2 separate regions of the Homo sapiens genome follow, and region 1 is linked to region 2. The links are contacts of gene promoters, found by promoter capture Hi-C in blood cells and fetal thymus (Javierre and others, 2016). All regions are on one chromosome and are shown on one strand. Each heading gives the region's core, a stretch centred on a gene start or on the middle of the fragment in contact. The rest is flanking DNA. Distances are from core to core; before and after follow the strand shown. Region 1 holds the start of LOXL2-AS1 (LOXL2 antisense RNA 1). Region 2 holds the start of TNFRSF10D (TNF receptor superfamily member 10d).

What was found. The method cuts DNA at HindIII sites, captures the fragments that hold promoters and counts their contacts. A CHiCAGO score of 5 or more calls a contact.
Region 1: a contact is called between the fragment with the promoter of LOXL2-AS1 here and the fragment with the promoter of TNFRSF10D in region 2, in 2 of 17 cell types (M0 macrophages and M1 macrophages). The highest score is 5.5, in M0 macrophages.

The regions. Positions count from the first base shown.
Region 1 is chr8:23,334,822-23,341,627 of GRCh38, reverse strand. It overlaps LOXL2-AS1 (LOXL2 antisense RNA 1), which reads right to left and starts at 5,420. Exons shown (of 3, transcript NR_038323.1): 1 at 4,171-5,420; 2 at 479-602. It overlaps LOXL2 (lysyl oxidase like 2), which reads left to right. Exons shown (of 14, transcript NM_002318.3): 4 at 425-636. RefSeq lists enhancers at 2,811-3,311, 5,376-5,625. The HindIII fragment of the contact is 1,425 bases long and covers 4,140-5,564 here.
Region 2 is chr8:23,160,575-23,167,974 of GRCh38, reverse strand. TNFRSF10D (TNF receptor superfamily member 10d) reads left to right here and starts at 3,948. Exons shown (of 9, transcript NM_003840.5): 1 at 3,948-4,189. The coding sequence starts at 4,040. RefSeq lists an enhancer at 4,091-4,210. The HindIII fragment of the contact is 1,686 bases long and covers 3,449-5,134 here.

The DNA.
Region 1 (6,806 bases), core at 4,171-6,670, 170 kb before region 2:
CTCACAGGCACATACACACATACTTTGGAGTGAAATGCAAAATCCGCATTCAAAGAACACTTTCTCTCCTGTGCATTTATTTCGAGGCCTGTGCAGGAGGAGGCTGCTGCCCTTTGCTCTCCAAGATCTTAGGTTCGGATGTAGGAGAAGCCCATGGGGTCTCTGAGTCTTTTCTGACTGTTCCAGGTCACCCCACTCCCTGTTGGGTCCTTTCAGCCTCACTATCTCCCATGCATAGCGCTTTCTAACTGCAGCTTGGGCCGTGTGCCCCTCGGGGTTGCCCAGAGCTCACTGCAGGGCCTGAGGGCACAGGCAGGCCCGCGGCAGGCCTGGCCCATAGTCGCTAAAGAAGTACTGGTTGCCTGGTGTCTCTGCAGCCAGGCCAGTAGGGTAACCCTCTCCTTCCACGCCTCTTTCTTCCCAGAACCTGAATATCCAGGTGGAGGACATTCGGATTCGAGCCATCCTCTCAACCTACCGCAAGCGCACCCCAGTGATGGAGGGCTACGTGGAGGTGAAGGAGGGCAAGACCTGGAAGCAGATCTGTGACAAGCACTGGACGGCCAAGAATTCCCGCGTGGTCTGCGGCATGTTTGGCTTCCCTGGGGAGAGGACATACAATACCAAAGTGTACAAGTAAGAGGACTGCACCAAAGGGGTGGCTTTGAGGGTATCCGCCCTGCCTAAAAGAGTTAAAAGTGTCCGCCCTGGTGGTGGCCTTTCCTTGGCCAGGCATGGCCAGGCAAGCTGGTGTCCCTGCAGGCAGCCTGCACAGAGCCCCTGGGCCGGGCCAGGCGCCAAGTTCAAGGGTGCCCCGTGGCATCCTTACCCTTAAGGAACTCACACATCTACAGGAGATAGACCCTAATCCCTAGAGTAGCTTGTGGGAAGGCGTATTGCAGAAGTGAGATGCAAGCTGCCCCCAGCCCAGAGAACCCCAGCTCAGGGTGCTGCCGGCCAGCTCAGGGACTGCACGAGCTAGGCTAGGGCAATACCCTGGCCAGGCTGGGCACAGACAACACCAACTTAAGAAGAAATATTTACTTGCTCTTGGCAAATGATTCTTCTGAGAAATCTGGAAGTTGCAGCAGGTAATTGAGACACTGGTCCGTGCAGTTCACTTCATCCAATCCCAGTTAAATCTGACAATACTGTGATGATCGCTAAGGTTAATATTTCCCAGTAGGGGAAAGAAGTAGACAGGGACAGAACCTGGAGTCATTTTGACTTAAGGGGTGTCCAGTGGAAGGATTCCAGCACCCCAACAAGCTGATGGCTGGCGTATACTTGGGGTATACTTGGTTGGTCATGGGGTGTTCCTCCCTCCTCTTAATAATGATAGGAATACTGGCTTGGCTTTACCAAAGACTTATAATGTGCCAGGCACTATTCTCAGTCATTTAATCCTCGCACCACCACTGGGAAATAGGAGTCTGTTTTAGAGTTGAGTAAACTGGAGAAAGGTGATAGAACCAGGAAGGGGCAGATCCAGGCCTCACGCACACCCTGGCCTCTGGAGGTCCCCTGTGTCCAGCTATAGGGTCCACACTCTTAGAGGGTGCAGACTCACAGCACTGTCTCTTTCCTTCCAAATCAGAGGAAGAAAAGATGTGGCTTCCATGTCAGGAGACCTGGCTTGAAGCCCCAGCTGTACCCACCAGCTCCCTGGGGTGCCGGGCAGACCACATATCCCTCCCTGATCCTGGCCCAGCCCTGCCTGGACGGGGTGGGCCATAATTTTGTCCCAGCCCCCAGCCCCTCACATGGGTGGGTCAGTGCAGCTGCAGAGCTGCCCATTTGGGTGAGCACACAACACCCCAGGCTGGCCATGATGGTGATTCCAGTCCCCAGACATGGCCCAGACCTTCCTGTTGGCACCAGGAGTCGCCGTCCTCTGAATACTTTGGAGAACTCCCACCCGACTCCTTCCTTGGTGATACCTTCTCAGCTTTTCTTACCAGTCGGAGCCAAGAAAAGCAAACCCCCTCCCTGGCAGGCTTCCTACCTGGCTGGCCCTACCAGTGCCCCCAGCCTGGCTGCTGTTCTAAGCTGGACAGCACGCGCCTTGTTCAGATGGCGTTTGGAAGCCATCTCCCAACCGTGGCCAGTCCAGAGTCCTTCTCGGCTTTTGAGGAGTTGATCTCAGGCCAGTTTCGGCAGCTGGGCCCTGGGTAATCCTGTCACGTGCTGGATTGGAACCCCCATCCTGCCCCTCCCACCCTCTCGTCTGTGGCTTTGCCTTTTCAAGGACGGGGAGGATAAGGCTTCCAAGGCTGAGAGCGATCCAAGGAGGGGGTGGTGGGTGGTGCTGTCTGCAGGATGGGTGATGAAGAACAGAAGCTGCTGGAAACCAGCCCCTCCTGCAGCCTTCTAGCTGGAGAGGTGGGGCTGCCTTCCTAGCAGAGGAGTGGGAAGGGAAGCACGACCTTCTCAGCTTGGCCCTGTCATTTTGTGTTCGTCTCTGGGACTCAGTTGACAGTTAGGCCTACATGTGTCCCAAAGAGAAAGGTGCTGGGAAGGCTTTCTGTGCCTCGGTGGGCTGTCGGGGCTGAGCTGCCAGCAAAGGGCTAGGACTCCTAGGGAATGATAAGGCTCAGAGACCACTGGCCTAAGCCCTGGGTCTGCCTGGAAGAGAACATGGAAGAGGCCTGAAGGGCAGTGGACTCAGGGTGTCACAGCCCACACCCAGCAGAGCCTGCAGGACAGCCCAGGTCTGCTTCAGGGAGAGCACCACCCAGCAGTCTCCACCTGCTGGCCCTGCTGCAGCTCCTCTTCTCCCGGGGGTAGGGCCAGCTCAGAAGCTCTGGCCAGTCTGAGGGTTGTGGCAGGACTGGCCTGGGACTAGGGATATCCATGGGCGCTGCTCAGAAGCTGAGGACTGCAGAGGTCTGGAAGGCAGACTGAGGACCACCACCCTGCCCGGCCCTTGAAGCAGTGGCTTGCAGTTGCATCTTTCCCATGTCCCTTTCCCTCTTCCTACAGCCTGTGGCTGCTGTTGCTGGCAGCACACCTCTGAGGCCCAAGAAGGGACCCCCTTCCCTCCCGCCATGCAGCACTGCCCACTCTGCAGGAAATTATTTTCAAAGTAATTCCCAGTCTGGGGTGGAGTTAGTAATCTCCATGTATCCACCAAGGCCCGTGAAGGACCTTATAGCCTCGGAAGCTCACCTGCTTAACCCCCGAGGGCCCCCCACCTTGGGCCCCCCCACCCCGCTGCTGCCTTACTGGACTGGCTCCCTCTGTGAACCTGCTGGGCTGGTGGCCACTCGGAAGCCTGAGAGCTGCCCCCTGGCCACCAACTGCAGCTCTTCCTCAGCACCTCTGCTTCCCCTAGTGATACGGTTTGGCTGTGTCCCCACCCAAATCTCATCTTGAATTGTGGCTCCCATAACCCCACATGTCGTGGGAGGGACCCAGTGGGAGGTAACTGAATCATGGGTGTGGGTTTTTCCCATGCTGTTCTCATGATAGTGAATAAGTCTCATGAGACCTGATGGTTTTATAAAGGCCAGTTCCCCTGCACACGCTCTCTTGCCTGCTGTCATGTAAGACGTGCCTTTGTTCCTCCTTCACCTTCTGCCATGATGGTGAGGCTTCCCCAGTCACGTGAAACTGTTGAGCTTATTGAACCTCTTTCCTTTATAAATTACCCAGGCTCGGGTATGTCTTTATTAGCAGCATGAGAATGGACTAATACCCTCCAGTTACCTGCACATACCCCAGAGGTCTCTGCAGCCACAGGCTTGCCAAAAGTAGAGTCAGGGGCTCCTCACCAAGGCCTGCTCTCTGATTGGTGTGGCCGTGGCACTGACTTCCACACCGGGCTGGGGTGCAATGCATGTACCTTAAAGCTAATGAAGCTTAAACTTCAGGCCCCCATTCCTGGTGCCAAGAGGGAGCATTTTGTAGTCATAATTTTGTTCTCCCAAAAGTAGGATCCCAATACTGACATCATTTAATTGAAATGAGCTCTCTAAGCAGAGATTCTGCATTTAATGTTGCAGCTGAGGAAGTTAGAAAGGCCTCCAGCGGTTTGCCTGGTTGGTTGGCTGAAATGTGGACCAAAGTGTGGCCCACAGTGAGTGAGTAGAAATGCTGACCCTGCCTCTGTTGTGTGTAGAGGACAGAATTCAAAAGCTTAGGGAGGTTGGATGTTAGAGTGGATCTTACCTTTAAGACCTCCTCACCCACGCTGGGAAGCTCCTGAAGACATGCCTTTCACCTTGATGGTGAGAAGTAAATATATGAAAGGAGCTCCAGCCTCCTTGAGGAGCTGTGATCACTCTTCTCTGAAGGCCAGACCTCACAGCAGGAACAGCAGCCACTGAACCAGTAACCTGAATGCGACCGGAGTAATTGGCTCCAGGGTGGCGGGGGCCCCGTGGCTGTAGTACTACCAAAGGCAAGGTGGACGTGCTGACCCTATTGGACAGTGGAGTCAAAGCAGAAATCAGTCTGACTGCTGCAGACCTGTGGTGTTGGCTGGTTGATCATGATGTTCCTCGAAGTGAAATAGACAGGAAGCCTACTAAGTTCGTACTTAATCTGTATAAGCAGAAAACTTCTAGGTCAAGCAAACAAAAGTCTATCCCAAATCATAAAAGCAGAGTAGAGTCATGACCCCTCAATCCATTCCCGTACTTGAGCCAGTTTTATCAGACTGGAAGCTCTTGAATGAGGGAAAGGCTGGGTACCCTCAAGGAAGCACCCTCGTAGCCTGCCAGAAATCTATACTGTATTCTTTCTCCCAGTTCTCCAAAGACACCTTTCACCAGGATGAGCGTGCATTGGAGAAAAGGAAATAATCAGATCTTTTGGACTACTGGCCACTGGTTCTGAGCTGACAGTAATTCTAGGAGACCCAGAACATCAAAGTGGGGGCTTATGGGTTTTTAGCTTACGTCCATCTGAAACCCATTCTGTGCTATTTCCCCACTTCCGGAAAGCATCATGGAAATAGATGTACTCAGCAGCTGGCAGAATCCCACGGCATCTGCCTTCACTCTTGGCAAGGGGAGCACCGGTCGGTAGGACTCTTGGTTGAATCAGTCCAGCTCCGTGTTCTTCCTACAGTCCAGCTATTGGCCTAGCTGCCTCTTTCACAGGCAGGCTTCCCGCTCCACTCCACTCAAGGCTGCCTCACTCACTCCAGTCACTCCTCCAGTCTCCAGGTCTGGAGCGGGGTGGGCTGTCTTCCACCCTCCGTGGGCCTCCGTCTGCAGCTCAGAGGCCTGTCCCCAGTGAAACACTGGGATGGAGGAGGGGAGGGGAGGGTATCCCCTGGGAGGCCTGAACGTGCTAGAGGGTCTGCAGCACATTCCTGGGGGCTGATGTCAGAGGGATCCGGGCTGCTGGGGACAGTTGTTTGCTGTGGGCTCTGCACTCTTCATTTAGAACGCAGGACATCTGTTCCTGGAGAGGGTGGCGCTCACTGACGGCTGGAAGCAGAGGGGTTTTCCTGAGCCAAGGCAGGCGGTGAGGTCTGACCAATCCTCGAGCAGCTGGTGTTCCCCCGAGTATCTTCTCCCGCCCCTGTGTGGGCGTCATGGAACATGCTGTAAGCTTCCAAGTGCAGGGGCCTTGCAGGAAGTGTGTCTGGAGGGCAGTGGTTCCTGGAATTATTAATAGCCCTCCTGAGCAGTTCTCTGCCCTGGGCTGCCGCTGTGGTGAGCACGCACCCTGAATTTGCCAGGATAGTCCTCAGCAAGATTCCGTGTCATTGTGTTCACAAGCACACTAGAATTGTAACAAGTCTCAGATTTGGGTTAAGGAGAGATGATAACTGTGTCTGTAGGATTTGCCCTTCCTCTGTCTTCACACCCCATTCACTCTGAGACAAAGGAGGTACTTCCAGGGCTGCTGGACCAGCAGGGATGGGACCTCGCCTCTGCCCTGTCTTGGGGTCAGCCTGCCCAGCGAGTACCCTCTGCTGGCTCCTTCTGGCATCTTACTGGGTCCTGCCGTGCAGGGACAAGCACACGGGCCCTGAAAAGCTGGGTCGACATGAGCAGGTAGCAGGGCCTTCCTGGACCTCCTTTGTTTCAGATCCCACCATCATTCAGGGCCCAATTTAAAGGCTTCTCTTCCGTAAAGTCTCCCATCACTCCAACCATGGAATCCCTCCCTCCTGTCACTCTTCTTTTTTTTTCTTTAACAAATACAGTTTTATTTATTTACTTATTTATTTCACAAACTCTTATGTAGCTCTTCCTATCTCTGGGCACTGTTTTAAGTGACAAGTATTAACTCATTTAAACTGTCACAACAGGCCAGGCACTGACGCATGCCTATAATCCCAGCACTTTGGGAGGCAGAGGTGGCCAGATCACCAGAGGTCAGGACTTCGAGACCACCCTGGTCCCAGGAGACCTCAACTTCTCCAGAGTTCTAGCCTCTTCTTAAAGGGCCAGAGTCATGGGAACCCAGATGGGGTGAGGGGGTCTCCTGCCACGGCCTCCTTACAATGATATGACTTGGCATAAATTTGGATACTACCTCCAAATACAGATTTATGGTCTGGCGTGATAGCTCATCCCTGTAATCCCAACGCTTTGGGAGGCCGAGGGAGGCAGATTACCTGAGGTCAGGAGTTCGAGAGCAGCCTGGCAACACGGTGAAACACTGTCTCTACTAAAAATACAAAATTAGCCGGATGTGGTGGCAGGTACCTGTAATCCCAGCTACACGGGAGGCTGAAGCAGGAGAATTCCTTGAACCTGGGAGGTGGAGGTTGCAGTGAGTTAAGATCGCGCCAAAGCACTCCAGCCTGGGCAACAGAGTGAGACTCCATCTCAAAAAAAAAAAAA
Region 2 (7,400 bases), core at 2,699-5,198:
CGTCACTGTGGTTCCCCCATATCCACTTCTTTTGCTTCGTGGCCTCTGGTGACCACCTCAAGGGAGTACACGGGGGTATCTCTTGCTGATTACAGTCACTTTCTAAACCTGAGGGTGGGTTCTACTGACCAGCATGGGCGTGTCTTACTTTAATGCACTCCTCAAGCTCCCCTAGAGATTTCCATAGGGTCGGGCCTCATATGGACATCCCTACACTAGGTCAGTTTCCCCTTACTCTTGGAAACAATGGAAAATGTAGAGACGAATATCCAAATTTAATACCCTTTATTTGGAAAGTAAGAATTGCAATTCTTGGCATACACAAAGACCAAGTTGTCTTTGGTACGTCCAAAGAACAAAGAGAAGTTTGGAAGTTTTTTTTTTTTTTTGAGACGGAGTCTGGCTCCGTTGCCCAGGCTGGAGTGCAGTGGCGTGATCTCCGCTCACTGCAAGCTCCGCCCCCTGGGTTCATGCCATGCTCCTGCCTCAGCCTCCCGAGTAGCTGGGACTACAGGTGCCCGCCACCACGCCCGGCTAATTATTTTGTATTTTTAGTAGAGACCGGGTTTCACAGTGTTTGCCAGGATGGTCTCGATCTCCTGACCTCGTGATCCGCCTGCCTCGGCCTCCCAAAGTGCTGGGATTACAGGTGTGAGCCACCGCACACGGCCAGATGTTTTTTTTTAAATGAGAAATACTAAGTATTTTTTTTTGCAGAAAGTTCATTGGCGCTGTAAAATTTGAAGAAGTGGCATGCTCTGACTGGTGAGTGACTGCAGTGGGTCAGGCTGGTCTTAGAGCAGCAGCTGGTTGTGTCAATAGATATAAGACAGAACTATTAATAGTTTCACGTTACAGCTGCCAGACTTACAGAGAATTGCAGTTTGGGGGTAATACAGTGATTTTTCTTCCCCATGGCCTCTTGACTCTGTTTTAGTTGGGTGTGACAAGAATGACCCAATTTGTGCGATCAACTTTCACATTCTCCTTCCCAACTCTATGACCGGGACATTGACGACTGTCCATGAGCCAGAAAAAAACTCAAGTACAGGGGCTTTTGCTGCTGTTCAAATCTTCCATAAGGCTAGGAAAATAGCATGCAATCCAACCCACCTAGCCAATTTGCCTTTGCCTTCTTCCATCAGAGGGGTGGCCTTCCAAGTAGGATGTTGTCCATTCATCTAGGAATGACTGTCTACAAACTAAGTAGCTCTTGGTCAGTAAGTAAAGAGCTGTGTATAGGGCAATGTCCAAGTGACCACAGAATCCAGCAGCTCCTCACCCAGTTCCAGACTCAGTCTGAGGGGAACAGAGGCTCCCTGCTCATGAGTGTCTCCTCTTTGCCTTCCTCAGGCACCAGGATCCCATATCAACCATTTCCATTTTTTAGGCTGAGTGAGGTGGCTCACGCCTGTAATCCCAGCACTTTGGGAGGCTGAGGCGGGTGGATCACGAGGTCAAGAGATCGAGACCATCCGGGCCAACATGAAGATCCCTCGTCTCTACTGAAAATTCAAAAATTAGCCAGGCGTGGTGGCATGTGCCTGTAATCCCACCTACTCGGGAGGCTGAGGCAGGAGAATCGCTTGAACCCAGGAGGCAGAGGTTGCAGTGAGCCTGGATCGTGCTGCACTCCAACCTGGCAACAGAGTGAGACTCCATCTCAAAAAAAAAAAATCCATTTTGTAATAGAACTCTTCTGGGACTGGCCTCCCCGTTAGAGCTTTTCCAAGATTCCTGAAGACATCATCAGTTTTTCAGGTTTCAAGATTATTTTATGTCCTTCAGTGACAGGGGAGACTTCAGTTAGTGTTCCATCTCAAGCTAGTAAGTGCCTCTTAAGTGGAAACTTGACTCTAAAGGCCCAGTTCCTTGGAGGTGCTCACAGCCTTTTGCCATTAGCCCTAGTCAGTGCTCCACACAGGGCACAGAGAATGCGTTGTTACCTGCAGTCTGGTTTCTGGTCTATACTGTGTGGTCCACCCTCCAGGGCCAAGGGAGCTAAGGTGCTCTAAGGACTTTCCTGCAGGCCCTGGTGGCTCTGTGTTAATGCTGTCAGTCTTCCTGAAGTCCCTGACCTTTCACCTCCTGCCTGGATCTGCACCCCGCACACATTCCTGACCCCACACATTTCTCATTGCCTGGGTCCTGGCACACATTTCTGACCCTAGCTCAGTGTCTGGGGCCTGGCACACATTTCCGACCCTAGCTCAGTGCCTGGGGCCTGACACACATTTCTGACCCTAGCTCAGTGCCTGGGGCCTGACACACATTTCTGAGTCTAGCTCAGTGCCTGGAACCTGGCACACATTTCTGACCCTAGCTCAGTGCCTGGAACCTGGCGCACATTTCTGACCCTAGCTCAGTGCCTGGGGCCTGACACACATTTCTGACCCTAGCTCAGTGCCTGGGGCCTGACACACATTTCTGAGTCTAGCTCAGTGCCTGAAACCTGGCGCACATTTCTGACCCTAGCTCAGTGCCTGGGACCTGGCACACATTTTTTTTTCTTTTTTTTTTTTTTCACAGAGTCTCGCTCTGTCACCCAGACTGGAGTGCAGTGGCACGAATCTCGGCTCACTGCAACCTCCATTTCCTGGGTTCAAGCAATTCTCCTGCCTCAGCTTCCTGAGTAGCTGGGATTACAAGTGCCCGCCACCACGCCCAGCTAATTTTTGTATTTTTAGTAGAGATGGGGTTTAACTATGTTGGCCAGGCTGGTCTCGAACTCCTGACCTCTTGATTCGCCCACCTCAGCCTCTCAAAGTGCTGGGACTACAAGCGTGAGCAACCGCGCCCGGCCCTGGCTCACATTTCTGACCCTAGGTCATTGTCTGGGCCCTGGAAGGTGCTCAGGGTGATCCATCGCTCAAATCCAAGCCTGTGGAGAGGATGACATTTCATTCCCAGGTTTCTCATGAGCCAAAAAACCTTCATTTCTATAGCGCTATCCTCTTCTATCTACCATGTGAGGGGTCAGGAGCCGACTCATCCCAAGGGTCTAGGAGTCCTGCCATTGACCTTACTGCTTAGGGTCACAAGCTGGCACCCTTCAAAACCACACATTGGGTCTGCCCTCACAGCGGCAGTGTGTTCAACTGGATGGGGAGGTAAGTAGCCCAAGGTCAGACAGTTGGACCTGGGTAGACAATAGACTTGGGGACAGACTTTGGAAGGCACTCCCCTGATTCCCCTGTCTCCATGGGGCCTCAATACTAGAGCCCTCAAGGTTGGTCAGGGAGTGTTTGTGCTTTGACCATGCAAAGGGTGCCAGGTTGTGGCTAGGGATGCCCCCGGCGTTCCTCTCCCTCCTACCTACTCCTCAGCCTCTGCAGGTGCCTGTCATGGCCTCTGTGTCCTTCATTCTGTCCACTCATGTGTTCACTGGGCCCCTCCTTGGTGCCAGGCACCCGCTACTGAGGGATACCAAGCCCCTGCCAGAGAAGCTTGGAGCTGGGTCACAGCAGCAAGGAGGCTGGAGACATCAGTGGCATCAGTGCACTGGTCAGTGAGGCCGCTGTGGGAGGAGGGAGTGGGAGCAGAAGCTAAGAGTGGACTGAAGTCCTGAGGCCAGGAAGTAGTTCAGGGTTTAAGAAGAGGAGAGACAGGCGGCCCGGGGAGGGAGCAGGCTCAGGATGGGCCTCCAGTGCCTCCTCTGGAGCTCACTACCCAGACTACAGCAGCGCAGCGGGCAGCGCCTCAGCTCCTTCCCCTTCTGCTGCCTACAGCCTGGACAGGACCCGGAATCAAACCGCAGGCCCTGGGTCACCGCTGCCGGAAAGAGCCAGTTCCTGTCCGTCCATGCACCCACCCACACAACCTGGGCCCTCCTGGAGGTGCTGGGGGAGACCCAGCCTGAGTGCCTGGAAGTGACTGCGGGAAGGGAGTACAACTGACCACGCCTTTTTTCCGGGGTATAAAAGCGGAGGAGCACGTTCTATTCTGGCAGTGTAGCTGCGAGAACCTTTGCACGCGCACAAACTACGGGGACGATTTCTGATTGATTTTTGGCGCTTTCGATCCACCCTCCTCCCTTCTCATGGGACTTTGGGGACAAAGCGTCCCGACCGCCTCGAGCGCTCGAGCAGGGCGCTATCCAGGAGCCAGGACAGCGTCGGGAACCAGACCATGGCTCCTGGACCCCAAGATCCTTAAGTTCGTCGTCTTCATCGTCGCGGTTCTGCTGCCGGTGAGTCTCCGCCGCGGTCCCTGGCTGGGGAAGAGCGCACCTGGCGCCGGGAGTGGGCAGGGAGAGAGGGGGACACGGTGGGGATGCTTGGCCCGGGTCGCCTGCGGCCGGGCATGTCTGGGCAGGACGAACCCGCCGTCGGAGTCAGGGGAAGAGTGGGGTGCCCGGGCTGGGCAGGAGCGACCGGGCCGCGAGGGAGCAGAGCGCGCGCTCCCCCTGGCTGTCCCGTGCGGCGAGGACCGCACTGAGCTGCCCCAGAGGAAGTTCCAGAATCAGCGGAGGGAGGGAGTCAAGATGGAAACCCCGGAGTGAACCTCAGGAAGCCACAGAGCGGTTGCCTCTTTCGTTCGTTCGTTCGTTCGTTCGTTCATAACGTTAACCCAGGCCGGTCGCGGTGGCTCACGCCTGTAATCCCAGCACGTTGGGAGGCCGAGGCGGGCGGATCACCTGAGGTCAGGAGTTGGAGACCAGCCTAGCCACCATGGTGAAACCCCGTCTCTACTAAAAATACAAAAATTAGCCGGACGTGATGGCGGTCGCCTGTAATCCCAGCTACTCGGGAGGCTGAGGCAGAAGGAGAATCACTTGAATCCGGGAGGCGGAGGTTGCAGTGAGCCGAGATCGCGCCATCGCACTCCAGCCTGGTCAACAAGAGCGAGACTCCGTCTCAAAAAAAAAAAAAAAAAAAAAAAAAAAGTTAGCCAGGCGTGGCAGCCTGCGCCTGTAGTCCCAGCTACTCAGGAGGCTGAGGCAGGAGAACTGCTTGAACCCGGGAGGCAGAGGTTGCAGTGAGCCGAGATTGCACCACTGCACTCCAGCCTGGGCGACAGAGCGAGACTCTGCCTTAACAAAAACAGACAAACAAACAAACAAAATTAACCCTATGTTTACACTGTTACACGTGTTTCTTGGAGATCAGTTTAACAAACAGCCTGTGAAAAAGCTTTCCAACGCTGTTTTTTGTAACTTTCATTTCCTATAGAACCCTGAAAGTGGCAGGAAGCGGTTAACCAAGGTGCTTGCAGTCAGTGTCTTCCACTGCCACCCGTGTGTCCCCTCTGTATCCCATAGGCAGGACCGCGGGATGGCCCCTTCCTTAGGCATAAAAGATGTAAAGTTCTCGTTGTGAGTTGGGTTTGGAAACTGAGATTGGTAGTGGGGTGCACAAGAAGGACATAAAAATAAGATGTGCAGACTGCCAGGACTTTTTCTGAGTGACTGACGTTTCTGCCAACAGTGCTTTCTAAGGTTTCTTACGTAATACCAAAAAACAAAACGGGGAGGATAAAACAAGATTACATGAACCATGAGAGTCTCCATGTTTTCTTTCAACGAAGTAATACTAAATTCAGAACAGCAGTGACATTTTCACCTCTCAAAAATTACACAACTGACTTCTACAATAGTTTATAGTGGGTGGACCTACCTGAGGCAGCTAGAAGAATGGCTGTGTCAGGACAGTGGCCCTGAAGAGAGAATGTGTGGATGACCTGTGTAGACAAGACCAGCAACCTGAATTTCACAGTTTTGGGAATGTGAACTCTATGCGTCCCAAAGGAGGCTTTGATCCCTCCATCAATCTTGCCTTATTAAATGCATTTCAATGCACAGTTGCTTTTTAAAATTTTGGAGCTAGCACAAATCACATTAGATGTTTTATGGCAGTACATTCAGATTGATTTTCTTTTAAACAAGGGTATTGTATTTTACTACATGGGTAAGCCACAGGTTAATTCACTGTTGCCATCTAGAGGCAGCTGGTTATATCCCATCCCGATGGGATATAACCCAAAGCAAATTTGCCTTTGCTAATTCCAACAGCATTGTACTAAATACCCTTGTATGTATCGTGTGTCCACATGTCCATGCGCACCAGCTTATTGGGCAACTCCTTAGAAGTAGAATTTTACTTCTACTTCCGTGGGATAAATCATTTCAGAAGTTTCTTTAGATGTTTACGAATTTTCTTCCAAAAGACCATTGAACTCAGCTTACACTCACACCTAGTTCACACATGTGCCTGTATCCCTACACCCTTGTTACACTTAGCTTTCATTCGTTGCTAGTCTAGGAAGTAAAAGGTGATTCATCACATTGTTATGTACTTTCATTCCTTAATGGTATTAGGAATTTTCAAGGATACGGGAGTTTTGGTAGTGGGAGTAGATGACCGGGGGATCCAGATGAGACAGCAGGGGAGGGTGGCAGGGAAGACTGAATTCCCAGCTGTGAACTTGGAGAACCGTGGTCAGCTGGGGCCAGTCCCTGCCACCTGCCACGCCTGTAAATGGAGATAAGGTCTCCATCTTCAGGCTGTCAGGAGGACATCAGATGAGCCTGGAGCTGAGCTCAGTTCCTGACCCCAGGTCCTGGCTCTGTCAGCGTTGGACTGTTCCAATCTGTGTGACAGAGGCTTCCGCCCCGCCCTTCTCTTTATCAAAGTAGGAATCGAAAAGATCCAACGGCCCAGAATCTCGGACTCTGAGGCTCTCAAGGACTCCTGAGATTGGAGGCTGGGAACAGCTGGGCCCTGCTGTGCTTCCCCTCCAGCTCTGTGACACTGGTGTGGCCCCAGCTCCTGCCTGTAAAGTGAAGAGGAGATAAAAATCTTCAGCAGCCCTGTGTAAACCTCAGAGGGCTGTGTTAGCAGGTGTGGGAGGATGAACCACATCCTCAGGGCTGGTGTCAGTCACTCCGGACTGGATCCCCAGGGCACATGTCCTCCACCCAGCAGAGGCTGCACCTGTTCCTACTTGCACCTCCATACCAGGCTCCCTGGCCTTGGGGCAGAAGCTTCTGAAGACTGGGGTGGAGCACCATGTGGAGGGGCCATCGAGGAACAGAGGAGCCAGAGTTCAAGTGAGGACAGCGATGGCACTGCAGGGCCACAGCCTGGTTTACCTGCCAAGTTTCCAGTTGTGCTTCTGGTGGGTGTCCGGCCCGGGTTGGAGTTTGAAGATGAGCAGGAAAGGTCTCCATCCAGGTGGCTGCAGATGGCTGCTCACCCAGCCCCTACTGAGAGGCCACGGTCCCAGTTCTGGTTCTCTGTCCTGTATCCAGGAGTGGCAGGGTAGCGAGGCTCTAGCTTCCAGGTTGGGGATGGAGACAGTGGGGACAGTGCCATGCCCCGAGCCTGTGCTGTTGGGCAGCTGGTATCCTGCTCCCAGCCAGAGAGTGTACATCTTCGTGTAGTGGATTTTCCTAACAACCA